2 separate regions of the Homo sapiens genome follow, and region 1 is linked to region 2. The links are contacts of gene promoters, found by promoter capture Hi-C in blood cells and fetal thymus (Javierre and others, 2016). All regions are on one chromosome and are shown on one strand. The core of a region is centred on a gene start or on the middle of the fragment in contact, and the rest is flanking DNA. Distances in the headings are between cores, read along the strand shown.

Region 1 (7,018 bases), core at 2,472-4,971, about 17 Mb before region 2:
ACATGGTGGAAGTCAGAAGGGCCAATGGGACAAATTCTGTGTCCTCACATGGCATGTGTAGAGAGAGAACCCACTCCTCCAATCCCTTTCTATAATGGCATTAATCCATTCTTGAGGGTAGAGCCCTCATGATCTAAACACCTCCCATTAGGACTCACATCCCAACATTATTGTATTGGGGATTAAGTTTCCAATGCATGAATTTTGGGGGATACAGTCAAACCATAGCAGGGGATATCAAGTGTGTGAGTCATTAAAATTGTTGTTAAATAGTTAAAATTTTAGATAGGGCGGCCAGGGAAGACCTCATCGAGACAGTGACTTTTAAGTAAAGACCTGAAAGGGACAAGCCATGTGGAAATCCAAGAGAAACACAATTCAGGTAGTGGAACAAACAAGGCAAAGCACTGAGGACCGAGTGTGTCTGGGATGCTTAAGGAACAATAGGGAGGTCATGGGCAGAAGCAAGAAGACTAGAGAGCTAATGCAAAAATCCAAGCAAGAGATGATGGTGGCTTAAACCAGAATGATGAGAAATGGTCAGATTCTAGAAATATGAATGTTAAGTCAACATTTGCTGATGGGCCATTTAGCTGATGGGCCATTACAAAGTGTAAGGGTTAGGGGAGGAGATCAAGGAAAACCCCCAAATTTTGACCTGACCAAGCAACTGGAAGGATGGCGCCCAATACATTTCTTTTTTCTTTCTTTTTCTTTCAATGAACCATGTGTACAGTTTTTCATATTTCTTCTTTTTCTCCCCACCCCCAGATTTGCATTTCTGTCACTTGCACCACAACCTCCCCACTCAATGAAAGAAATTTAGAAAGCACTGGTATTCAAAAGAACAGACGTAAAACTGCTTGAGGTTTTGCTCATCTAAAGCCTGTGTGTTCTTTGGAGGCTATGACTTTTGAGGGCAAGTCATAAAAGCTAAAGAGGCCCCTGCCCTGTTCACCAAAACACTTGTTCTAAGTTCTAAAACACTGTAGTTCTATGATTCTGAAATCTTGAAAGGATTACAATGAAAAAAATACTCTGTTTTCAAGAATCCAGCAGACACTTTTCAGAATACTAAATTTTGTATATTGTAAATATACCAAATATACTGTGAATATTATCAGTATAATGCAATTCTGTTCAGCATAATACTGGTACATTGATTGGTTGGCTGGGTGCCAAGGAACACAGCTTTCTCAGGGAACAGAAATACTCCTGGTTCTTAGGATTTAAGCTATTAACACATATCTATGCTTGAAAACCACATGCCACTTTTGTTAAATGAATTGATGCAGTTCAGCATCATAAGCTCAAACATTCACTAATTTCACCTTTTTCTGATTTATTCACTTGTTTATTAGTTCAAGGAGAGGACAGTTTAAATAGAACAATATATACACAATGATAGTTTCATGATGAGCCAAGACATTAAGTAAGACAAACAAGGCAATCTGATTTTATGTTAAACATTGGCCTGTTACTGTATTATTAAAATAATAGTGGTATTTGAGTTTGGAGCCAGTATTGTGGTCTCTGTACAAAAATAATGCCTTTCTTTGGCATCAATAAATCAGTATGCATCTATCTTAATTATATCAGCATAAAAAATAGCTTACTCTCCTTGGCAGTAAATAACATTGCCTTCAATTAGCCAAATTATATTTCTGTCTCAAACTACATCCAGTACCATATATTCCATGTCATCAGAGAAATTCTAAATTATCACTGCAGATTGTGTTTATTTTTACATTGGACTGTATCACAAACTGAACATTTAAAATATGAAAAAGGAAAAAACCTTCATATAACTGCCTCTCAGTGTGCCTCCTCTCTAAAGCTTCTAGGCTGCTTTCTCCACTGGGCTGCAGACCTTCCTGTCTAGTAGCTCTTGGACACCATGTGTCCCAAACTGAACTCATCCCTTCCCTCCAGCTGCCCCTATTCCTGTGTTCTGTGTATCTATTCATGACATGTCCATCCACCTGGTCAGCCACGTTCAAAACTTGAATCTTTTGACTACTCACTATACTTCACTTCCTATATCCAATTGGTTGCCAAATACTGCCCACTGAACAGCTTCCAAGCATCTAATCTCTCTCTTCTTTATCTACTGCTGGAATTCTCTTCCTGAAGCCCAGATTTATGTTATTATTTGCCTTACATTTTCCTCCCATTTTCTATGGAATGGCCTAACTCCTTAGAATGGTACCAAGATTTTCCACAGTTTGGCCATTCCTTTCCACCCCACTGCACCTTGTTTTCATTGTCCTCAGAATTTCATTTATAAAGGTGACTGGGTGATGACAATCAATGAGTTAGTGGCCAATGCCTTTGAAAATTTTATTATAGTTCTCAAGAGAAGGGGCTGTGCCTACGGCCACACGAGAAAGTATTAGGGTCAATGAGGAGGTAGAGAGAGCGAGGAGAAAGCCCAGAGCCTTTATTGCCGTGGGAAGGAATGGGCGAAGCAGGGAAGGGAAGTCTGAACAAGCTTAGGATTGAATAATTTGAATAATGTTGGCAAGCTCTGGGATATAGAGGTGAATTTTAGTTGTCTGGTACTTGGCCATGGGGTGGTTTATTACAGTGACTTGGGGCAGGGAAAATATTGGTGTGTGAGATGGATAAAGATGGTGTGGGGATATAGGCTTGGGTTGGTTGGTTTGTAAATGAAAGGGGTGTTCACAAGCAAGTTGTTTGCTATCTCTAGGAATTAGCTAACTCTGAAAGGGGCAATTCCTCCCCAGGTCCCCAAGGCCCCAAGATGTCAAAGCATCATAAAATACAGAAAACAGAAACTAAAATCCATGGTTAATACACACCTCCCTTCACACACACCCTTTACTCCCGGCTCCAGTAGCCCCAGAAATGCTCTAGACGAAGTAAGTTCTGTAGTGCATCTCTCAACAATATGCCGCCACCCATAGCCCTGGCTGAGGAGAGCCACCAAACCTGGTACTATGCGACCATGGTCCTTCCCCTGGTCACTGGATAGTGATCGCACCCAACACAGGCACCCCCATCTACAGGGTGGCTGGAGATCTATGACCATTGTGGCGTACCTGGACCAATCAATAAACTGGACCAATTGGATTTCCATTTTTAGGGATTTAAATTCAGAGCCACAAAAGGAGATTGTCAGTTGATGATGAGCTAAGACACCCTGAAGTATACTCACAACCTTAGCAAGCCATGTGCAGTCTAGTGCTCCACCCCTCTACCCACCCCGTCCAACCCCCACCAAAATACTAACAAAATACAACACACTAGTTCATCATCTAGACCATAATAACTCGCTGGGGATAGTGCTGGAAGTTTTTGTTTGTTTAACATTTCTTTCAAATACTAAGATTAACGGAGTTGCATAGTGAAAAAAACTGTAGGAAAGGGTCGGACTTAGGCCTGGAGTGAAGGGCACAAGATGCTTTTATTTTAAACCCCTAAAAGTGTTGCAAAGTGTTTTTAATTTCATATAAATAGTTAAGGATCACATGAACACAATCCAGTACAAATGGGTCCAGGAGCTTCAACGAGCGTTCCAGCTTCTTCGTAACGTTCCCACACCGTGCAGCAAGCGGAGGGAAGAGAACTTCCGGCGCCCCCACCTACCGCTCCCCAGCCGTGTCCCGCTGCTCTAAATCTGCAGACTTGATCGATTGCTTCTGCCTGGGCGGTACCGCCCGAATTGACTGCTCCTGTCTGATGCGTCCCCGGGCGCGGGAAACGAGTTTCAATCCACTTTCCTGACCCCAACCATCCTGCCCAGTCTCCGCTTCCCCGTCTTGTACACCCCTAACTCCTGAGGCTCCTCCGAATCACGCGAGTGGAAGCGGAGAAGCTCAAGTGGCCGCCATGTCAGAGGCTTATTTCCGAGTGGAGTCGGGTGCGCTGGGGCCTGAGGAGAACTTTCTTTCTTTGGACGACATCCTGATGTCCCACGAGAAGCTGCCGGTGCGCACGGAGACCGCCATGCCTCGCCTTGGCGCTTTCTTCCTGGAGCGGAGCGCAGGCGCCGAGACTGACAACGCGGTCCCACAGGTGAGCCTTTGGGTGCGGGGTCCTGCCCGGAAAGACTGCAGCTCCCGGCGGGCCCCTCGGCCCTGGGACGCCGCATCGGGGCGCGCTGCCCTTTGGGATTTGTAGTTTTCGAGGAGCCAGGGCCGAAGGCGCTAACGACTTCTCGGAAACTCCGCGGGGGTCCCTTCGCGCTCGGGGTGGTCTCCAGACTTCTTGTTCGCCATCTGTGGTGAAACTACATTTATCCTAGGTCGCCAGGCAGCCTCCAACATTGATTTCTTTTTTGAAACTGTCCAAATTAGTGTCTTCCCCCTACCCCATGCAACGTGTGTTGAATGCTTAAAGATTGGCTCCAGCTGAATACTTAAGAATTAGAGTTCTGATCATGTTTGCCTTAAAACAGCTTTGGGTTCTGTAAGAGCATGTGATAAGTAGGAACCCCAAGTTGCTAAATTCATTCCTCCATAATGATGACAGGATCAGTAAGCCCTACTGAGGCTTACTTAGTGGCAGCATGGTTGGGTGTGGGGAGTAAGCTTTTCCCTTTAATCCTTCAGCAACCAGAAAGGCTGGGTCACTTGGCCAGGGCTTCAGTTAGTGGTGAGCTGGGATTCGGAACCCAAGGCCATATGGCTTCAAATATAAAATTGTCCCAGGAACATGGCTTGTAATGATTAATTTGGATATCCTGTTTCACCTAAGTTTTGTATAGAACGATGTTTATTGTTTGGTCTGTTTGTTTCAAGTTAATTTTTATCAAAGTAATACATAACCAACGTTTTAAAAGTCAAATAGGCCGGATGCGGTGGCTCACGCCTGTAATCCCAGCACTTTGGGAGGCTGAGGCGGGCGGATCACGAGGTCAAGAGATCCAGACCATCCTGGCCAACATGGTGAAACCCCATCTCTACTAGAAAGCTGGGTGTGGTGGCCGGCGCCTGTAATCTCAGCTACTCTGGAGGCTGAGGCAGGAGAATTTCTTGAACCCAGGAGGCAGAGGTTGCAGTGAGCCGAGACTGTGCCACTGCACTCCAGCCTGGCGACAGAGTGAGACTCCATCTCAAAAAAAAAAAAAAAAAAAGTCAAATAGTACCAAAAGATTTATAAGAAAAAAAATAGCAGGTCCTGCCTTCCTTTTCCCACTTCCCCCTCCAAGTCCACAGGGCTCATGTACCTTTTTTAGTGGTGTCTTCAAGATTCATCTTCATATTTCTAAATAATATTCTTAAACTTACCTTGTTGGGTTGTTTTTTTTAATGTAGACATTATCTGTTGACTTCATCCTAGCAGATGAGGATTTCGTTCCCATACACACTGGTAAACATGGCGCTATGCTGCCCATACTTAATTCATATTTCCTTAGTTTTTAGTTAATGCCCTTTTTCTATTCTAGGATTCCACCTAGGATACCACACTGCATTTAGTAGACATGTTTCCTTAGCCTTCTCTTGGTTGTGACAATTAATCAGACCTCCTTGTTCTAATGACCTCGACGGTTTTGTGGAGTGGTGGTCAGGTATTTTGTAAAATGTTCCTCAGTTGGAAATCTTTGGTTTGGGGGTAGTTTTGTTTTTGGTTTTGTTTTTTTGTTTGTTTTTTTGACACGGAGTTACCCTGTCATCTAGGCCAGAGTGCAGTGGCATAATCTCAGCTCACTGCAGCCTCCTCCACCTCCTGGGTTCAAGCAATTCTGCCTCAGCCTCCCAAGTAGCTGAGATTACAGGCGCCCACCACCACACCCAGCCAATTTTTGTATTTTTAGTAGAGATGAGGTTTCACCAGGTTGGCCAGGCTGGTCTGGAACTCCTGACTTCAAGTGATCCACCCAACTCAGCCTCCCAAAGTACTGGGATTACAGGCGTAAGCCACCTCGCCCAGCCTTCTTTGTTTTTGTTTTTTATTCTTTTTTTCTCAGCATTAGACTTGATTATCAGCTTTAGGGAGGAAGACCACAGAGGTAAAGTGCCATTTTCATCACATATTAAGGGTGCCTACTATCAACAGGACTTTGTACTGTTCATTTGAACCTTGGCAGAGGTAATGTTCATTAGGTTTCTCCACCTTTTCATACTGTACTCTTTGGATGGAAGTCATTATCACTGTCACACTGAAGGAGTAGGGAGTTATGTTCCACTTCTTTGAGTGCAGAGTGTCTACATTAAATCTTTAGAATCCTTCTGCATGGGAGATTTGTGTAGGAAGGTTTGTATGACATTTAATTTCATTTATAGGATTATTCAGACTTGATTTCTTCTTGTGTTAGTTTTGGTATATTTGGTTTTTAACTAAAACTTTGACCATTTTATCTAATTTTTTTTTTTTTTTTTTGAGACAGGGTTTTGCTCTGTTGCCCAGGCTGGAGTGCAGTGGTGTGATATGGCTCACTGCAGCCTTGACCTCCCAGGCTCCAGAGATCCTCCCACCTCAGCCACCTATGTGGCTGGTATTGCAGGTACATGCCACCATGTCCAGCTAATTTTTGTATTTTTTTTTTGTCTAAATTTTCTTTTTTTTTTTTTTCTATTTGTACATTTGAAATTCTTCTGTAATATTTGTATATATATATATATATTTTTTTTTTAATTGATCATTCTTGGGTGTTTCTCGCAAAGGGGGATTTGGCAGGGTCACAGGACAATAGTGGAGGGAAGGTCAAGCAGATAAACAAGTGAACAAAGGTCTCTGGTTTTCCTAGGCAGAGGACCCTGCGGCCTTCCGCAGTGTTTGTGTCCCTGGGTACTTGAGATTAGGGAGTGGTGATGACTCTTAACGAGCATGCTGCCTTCAAGCATCTGTTTAACAAAGCACATCTTGCACCACCCTTAATCCATTCAACCCCTGAGTGGACACAGCATATGTTTCAGAGAGCACAGGGTTGGGGGTAAGGTCACAGATCAACAGGATCCCAAGGCAGAAGAATTTTTCTTAGTACAGAACAAAATGAAAAGTCTCCCACGTCTACTTGTTTCTACACAGACACAGCAACCATCCGATTTCTCAA
Region 2 (7,079 bases), core at 769-3,268:
CAGAATTGCTTGAACCCGGGAGTTGCAAGTTGCCGTGGGCTGAAATCGCACCGCTGCAATCCAGCCGGGGCAACAACGACTCTGCCTCCAAAAAAAAAAAAAAAAAAAAAAAGTCAGTAAAGAGGAATTAACCAGTTTTTTCCGTTTACCTAAAAACACACTCTGAACTGGAAACCGTGCTTTCACCTGTGATATACAGTCCTAAAGTTCAATTCAATGTAATTGATTATCATAGGTGGTTTGAAAGAATGAACTAAACTTTAGGATCGTATATCACAGATATACCACATTCAATTAAATTTGACTTAATAAAGTCAAGTCAATTTTCTCTAAGGTAGCAGTCCAAAGACCAGGTTCCAAACTTTTATGGAAGTCCATCGGATTGCTCTAATAAAGGACAATATATTAAGGTCCTACCCAACTATAAACTTCGACAATTTCTCTTATACTTTTTCTAAGATATTTGAAGCACAAAGCCAGGGACACAAAAGGAAACATCAGGCCAGGGGTGGTGGCTCAGGCTCACGCCTGTCATCCCAGCACTTTGGGAGGCCAAGGTGGGCGGATCACAAGGTAACGAGATTGAGACCATCCTGCCCAACATGGTGAAACCCTGTCTCTACTAAAAATACAAAAATTGGCCAGCCATGGTGGCACACGCCTGTAATCCCAGCTACTCGGGAGGCTGAGGCAGGAGAATCGCTTGAACCCTGGCAGCGAAGGTTGCAGTGAGCTGAGATCGCGCCACTGCACTCCAGCCTGGCGACAGAGCGAGACTCCATCTTAAAAAAAAAAAAAAAGAAACATCATTTCTCTTTTCTTTTTCATTCAGGGTCTGGCTCCGTCTCAGTAACTCCTTGGGGAAAGCGATGGAGAAGGGCTCGCTCACGCAGCACTTCTGGCAGTCCCTGAAGGACCACTACCTCAAGTCTCCCAGGCTGGAGTGCAGTGGCACGACTTCAGCACACTGCAACCTCCGCCTCCTGGGTTAAAGCGATTCTCCTGCCTCAGTCTCCCGAGTAGCTGGGATAACAAGTGCGCGCCACGGGGATTAAGCCCTCTCGTATGCCTCTGGAATGGTACTATGTACCATCTTCCTAGCAATGATAAAACACTCAATTACCTGTGTTCTGTGGTTCAAATGGGGAACGCTAATGAGAATATAAGACAGCCAGTTAAAGGGTGGCTAATCCTGACTTATCTATGTTAACCTACATACTCCAGGGATTTGGGAGTGGTTAACAAAGATATCAGGCTGAATTAAGATGGTCTCTACTGTTAGACGTTGATCACTTAATACTCACAGGTATCTACTGAATAACCCATACGGGTAGATGCATGACAGTTTTAGAACTGATCCCTTTTAATACATAACGTTCAGAATGACCTTAGTGAGGCCCAGAAAATTTTGAAGGTCTTTCTGAAAAGCTAGGGTATTTAACATTTCTCCAACTTCCACGTTTACTGAGTGGCTCAACAAAAGAATGCATTTCTCAGAAAGGAGGATGAAGCTAAGCAGGAAGTTTCGCTTTTCTTTTCTGATAACTCTTAGTTCTCGTCCTAGTTCCTCCTCCACAGTCTCTTAACTCTAGGAGTATGATAGGGAGCATCCCGCCGGTGCCAGCTGGGAACGGGGAGCCGGCGTGCCCGGGGTATCCCGGGGTACGTGGTCTGCAGGGCGCAGCCACCACGTCTCAGCATGTGCGTACCCACGAGAGCCGGCAAGAAGGCCCCGGCACAGCAGCCTTGGTGGGAACCTCGCGGCGCTTCCCAGCCCAGACTCTCCTACCGCAAAGGCTTTAAAGACTCGCAGCGACACTCACTTCTTGCTCAGTTTCGGCTCGCTGCCATCCACTTTCACCTCGGCCGCCTGCACGGCCGCCATCTTCCCGGAGGGCCCGACCCAAAAGTAAGGAGGATAGTACGTTAATTTCCAGGTCAAGGTGCGAAGCCCCACCTCTTCCGGGGGAGAGGGGGCGGGCACTCTCGATGCGCCGCGGCTGCTGCTGCGCAGGCCCAGTGCTGCGCTTCGCGGCAGAGGCGTCTGCGGTGACAGCTCAGTCAGTTGAGCTCTGTGTGCCAGGCGCTCGCGAGGGGGTAGCTCTTCTAGTAGTGCTCGGCGTCAGACATGGCGGAGGCGATGGATTTGGGCAAAGACCCCAACGGGCCCACCCATTCCTCGACTCTGTTCGTGAGGGACGACGGCAGCTCCATGTCCTTCTACGTGCGGCCCAGCCCGGCCAAGCGTCGGCTGTCGACGCTCATCCTGCACGGCGGCGGCACCGTGTGCCGAGTGCAGGAGCCCGGGGCCGTGCTGCTGGCCCAGCCCGGGGAGGCGCTGGCCGAGGCCTCGGGTGATTTCATCTCCACGCAGTACATCCTGGACTGCGTGGAGCGCAACGAGAGGCTGGAGCTGGAGGCCTATCGGCTGGGCCCCGCCTCGGCGGCGGACACCGGCTCGGAAGCAAAGCCCGGGGCCCTGGCCGAGGGCGCCGCGGAGCCGGAGCCGCAGCGGCACGCCGGGCGGATCGCCTTCACGGATGCGGACGACGTAGCCATCCTTACCTACGTGAAGGAAAATGCCCGCTCGCCCAGCTCCGTCACCGGTAACGCCTTGTGGAAAGCGATGGAGAAGAGCTCGCTCACGCAGCACTCGTGGCAGTCCCTGAAGGACCGCTACCTCAAGCACCTGCGGGGCCAGGAGCATAAGTACCTGCTGGGGGACGCGCCGGTGAGCCCCTCCTCCCAGAAGCTCAAGCGGAAGGCGGAGGAGGACCCGGAGGCCGCGGATAGCGGGGGTGAGGAGGCTGAGCGCGGGGCCTCGCGGATATCTGCGCGGGTGGGGTTGGGATCTTTCTCCTGGCTGCCTGGCGTCCATCTTGGCATCTTCGGTAGCAGCGCTTGGCCCCGCCCCCTGTTGACATCCGGGTAAATTTGCACCATTTTCTTGCCTTCTCGCTCCCTTGTTGTTTATTATTGTTCTTTTTTTGCGATGGGTCTCTGTTACCTAAGCTGGTCTGAACTCCTGAGCTCAAGCGATCCTCCTGCCTCGGCCACCCAAAGTGTTGGGATTACAGGAGTGAGCCACCACGTCTGGCCTCTCGTCGTTTTTATTTTTTAATTTTTGAGTGGGGGCTCGCTCCGTCGCCCAGGCTGTGATGCAGCCGCGCGATCACGACCTACTGCATCCTGGACCTCCTGGGCTCAAGCGAATCTCCGGCTTCAGCCTCCCAAGTAGCTGGAACTACACTCCCGCGCCACCACGTCCCGCTAAATTAAAAAAAAAATTGTTGTAGAGATGGGGGTCTCGTTGTGTTGCCCTGACAGGTCTCGAACTCTTGGGCTCAAGCGATCCTCCCGTCTCGGTGTCCCAAAGTGTTGGGATTACAGGCGTGAGCCATCACACCCAGCTTCTTGGTCTAGTTTTAATTTACTTTACCATTGACTAGAATATTGACATGGTTCTATATTCAAAAGTTACAAAAAGTATATAGAAAATTCTCTCTTGGCCGGGCGCGGCGGCTCAAGCTTGTAATCCCAGCACTTTGGGAGGCCGAGGCGGGCGGATCACCTGAGGTAAGGAGATCGAGACGAGCCTGACCAACATGGCGAAATGCCGCCCCTACTAAAAATACAAAAATTAGCCGGCCGTGGCGGAGAGTTCCTGTAGTCCCAGCTACTCAGGAGGCTGAGGCAGGAGAATTGCTTGAACCCGGGGGGCGGAGGTTGCAGTGAGCCGAGACTGCGCCACTGCTCTCCAGCGTGGGTGACAGAGCAAGACTCCATCTCAAAAAAAAAAAAAAATTATCTCGTCCTTCCTGTCCACCAGCTACCCACGGGCTAACTGGCTTCTTGTGTTTCTTTTAAGAGATATTCCACAGACTCCTTTTTAAAAAAGATTGCTGTTATGTTCAGGTAGATTCAGTATAAAGGCGTACCAGACTTACTTTAATGCTCTGGCGTAACTGAATGCCTATGGACTTAAGAAGGTTCTCGGCAGTTGGAAGGTCTCTTCCTGGTCTTGCTTAGGTGAAGTGAGTTTTTAATGCAGTTGAATTGAAAATTGGGGTTCAGTATGTCTAGGATACAGAACGAGTCTGTTAAGATGTACTTGGTGACGTACCTGGCATTGATAACTTAAACCGATAGACCCTTTTGTTTAAAGAGGCATGCTGCTTCTCCTCCCCCTCCGTAATCCTCCCACCTTTTCTTTGCCTGTATGACTACTCCATTTAACACTTGAAGTCTGGGGAGTAAAATCTTTTTCTCCTGTTCAGTATGCTTAGTAGGAATTTTGTTTTGGTAAAAGTGACATTTCAGCTTCATTCATTCAGCAGAAATTTGAGTGCCAGACATTGTGGTCCTGCTGGAATATAACAATAAATAAAAGTCCCTGTGGTCCTGGAGCTTATAACATGCTAGCTGGGGAGTGGTAAGGGCTATAGAGAAAAATAATTCAGAGTGTAAGGGTTGGGGAGGAGGTTTTTCCTATAGGATGATAAGAGAAGGTCATTCTCATAAGCTGATGTTTAAGCAGAGACCGAAGGAAGTGAAAGAGCAACCCAGGTGGATATCTGGGGAAGAGTGTTCAGGCAGAGGAAGAAGCCAGGGCAATCGCCCTTAGGTGGGAGTATGGCTGGTGTGTTTGGAGCCACAAAGAGAACAGAGTGGCTGTTAATGGAGTAGGAGGGAGAATTAATTATAGCAGATGAGGTTAGGGCTATGTGTATGGGTGAAGTATGTCATCATGTATGGCCTTGCTTTTATTTTTATTTTATTTTAATTTTATTATATATCTTGAGATGGGGTCTTGCTCTGTCACACAGGCTGGAGTGCGGTAGTGCGATCACGGCTCACTGCAGCCTTGACTTCCCAGGCTCAGTGGATCCTCCCACCTCAGCTTTCCAAGTAGCTGGGACTACAGGCACTCGTCACCATACCTAGCTAATTTTTGTATTTTTTTGTAGAGACAGGATTTGGCCGTGTTGCCCAGGCTGGTCTCGAACTCCTGGGCTCAAGGGATCTGCCCGACTTGGCCTCCCAAAAGTGCTAGGATTCCAGGTGTGAGCCACCATGCTGTGTCTGGGACTTGCTTTTAAATCCGTGATGTTGGGGCTATTGGCAAGCCATTTGGAACTTGGGACAAAATTAAGCTGTATTCATCCTACCCATCTAAGTAATCTTTTGATAATCAGATATTTAAATGTAAAAATTAAAAAATTCTAAAATGAGTAAGAGAAGATATGAATGAATATATCAGTATGGTGGGAGTTGCTCTGAACCATTTGTGGTTCAGGATGCTGCCTGATTTGCCAGAAGAAAAAAAGTAAAAATATTAGCATGGTGATAAGTTATGAAGCCAAAAAGACAAAGAAAAAGTTTTATATATTTGATTACCTGAAAATTAAGAACTTCTCATGATAAATAAAGTCAGAGGGCATGCTGGAAAAACATTCCCAATACACTGCAATAGACTTAGTTTCTTTAATGTCTAAAGAGCTCTTTGTCATTAAGTAAGAAGTCATTAAGTAAAAAGAAAACTAATAGAAAAATGAGAAAAGGAAATGGAACAGGAAGTTCCCAGAAAAGGAAATAAATAAGCGGCCGATAAACAAATGAAGAAATAGTCTGTTATTAAATGAAAGTAAATCAGACCGAGTGCGGTGGCTCATGCCTGTAATCCTAGCACTTTGGGAGGCCAAGGTGGCAGACCACTTGAGGTCAGGAGTTCGAGACCAGCCTGGCCAACATGATGAAACTCCGTCTCTACTAAAAACTACAAAAACTATCCAGGCATGGTGGCATGCGCCTGTAATCGCAGCTACTCAGGCAGCTGAGGCATGAAAATTGCTTGAACCAGGGAGGTGTAGGTTGCAATGAGCTGAGATCAAGCCCCTGCACTCCAGCCTGGGTGACAGAACCAGACTCCATCTCGGAAAGAAAAAAAGAAGAAGAAAGAAAGTAAATCAGACCCTGAGCCTAGGGTCAGTATAAGCTATACTTTGACCCATGAGACCTGTGAGATAATAAATATGTGTGTTGGAATTGTTTTGTATTTATTTGATGAATTGAGATAGCTTCCATTATACAAAATAGAACAAAAGCTCCCCAAGTTATTTATTTTTTTTAACTAAATCAGAGCAAGGAGATGTTATACTTTATCTATAAGATTGGCAAAAGTCAATACAATGGGTAATATCCAAAGTTAGTGTATGGGAAAACAAGTATACTCCTACGTTGTTAATAGAAATTGATACAATTTCTTTGGGGGGCATTTTGACAATATCTGATGACATTTATAACGTATATTCCCTTAAACATGGCAGTTTTGTTCTAGGAATTTATCCCGTAGATATACTCAGAGTACAAATGGGTACATACTGAAAAGGCAGTCTCCCTATTTACATACCCTTTTCCCTGGGTCCTTTCCTAGGGGCAGCCTCTATTACCGTCTCTTGTCTGTTGCATGTCCCCTTTGCTCATAGTAATACTAGCACACTAGACATCAACTTAATCTGTGGTTTACTTTTTTTAAACTTAATTATTTATCTTGAAGTGTTTGTGTGTCTGCACAAAGCTTTTCCTCATTCTTTTCTAATTGATTGCACTGTATTTCATTATGTGAATGAACAGTAATTTACTTTTTATTATGGAGAATTCCAAGCATTTACAAATACAGAATAGTATAATGAACTATACTGCATATACCCATCACCCACCTTCACCTGATTTTAGTTCATGGCATTTTTTAAATCTATACTTTTCATCCCAACTTCCTGGACTGTTTTGAAGCAAATGCCAGACATCATATCATTTTATCTATTTTAGCATGTATCTCTCAAAGATAAGCCTCTTTTAGTTACTATTTAAGAATTTTATTAAATACATACAGTAAAATTAACTTTTTATGGTGTAAAATTATATGCATTTTAAAAACTTTATTTTTTATTGTGGTAAAATGTATATACCGTAAAATTTACAGTTCAGATAGTTTTTTAAGTGTTCTGTTCAGTGGCATTATTAAGTGCATTCACATTGTTGGGCAACTGTCACCACCATCTGTATCTAGAACTTACTCA

The links. Contacts are between HindIII fragments. The CHiCAGO score rates a contact against its expected background, and 5 or more counts as called.
Region 1: a contact is called between the fragment with the promoter of GINS3 here and the fragment with the promoter of TERF2IP in region 2, in 1 of 17 cell types (monocytes). The highest score is 6.2, in monocytes.

The regions. Positions count from the first base shown.
Region 1 is chr16:58,388,750-58,395,767 of GRCh38, forward strand. It overlaps GINS3 (GINS complex subunit 3), which reads left to right and starts at 3,722. Exons shown (of 3, transcript NM_022770.4): 1 at 3,722-4,038. The coding sequence starts at 3,853. RefSeq lists enhancers at 3,361-3,938, 3,545-4,034, 3,939-4,515, 6,544-7,018. The HindIII fragment of the contact is 2,062 bases long and covers 2,490-4,551 here.
Region 2 is chr16:75,645,755-75,652,833 of GRCh38, forward strand. It overlaps TERF2IP (TERF2 interacting protein), which reads left to right and starts at 2,019. Exons shown (of 3, transcript NM_018975.4): 1 at 2,019-2,798. The coding sequence starts at 2,129. KARS1 (lysyl-tRNA synthetase 1) reads right to left here and starts at 1,911. Exons shown (of 14, transcript NM_005548.3): 1 at 1,824-1,911. The coding sequence starts at 1,885. RefSeq lists enhancers at 1,764-1,943, 1,983-2,940, 2,874-3,143, 2,941-3,896, 4,475-4,554 and a silencer at 2,444-2,563. The HindIII fragment of the contact is 3,802 bases long and covers 1-3,526 here.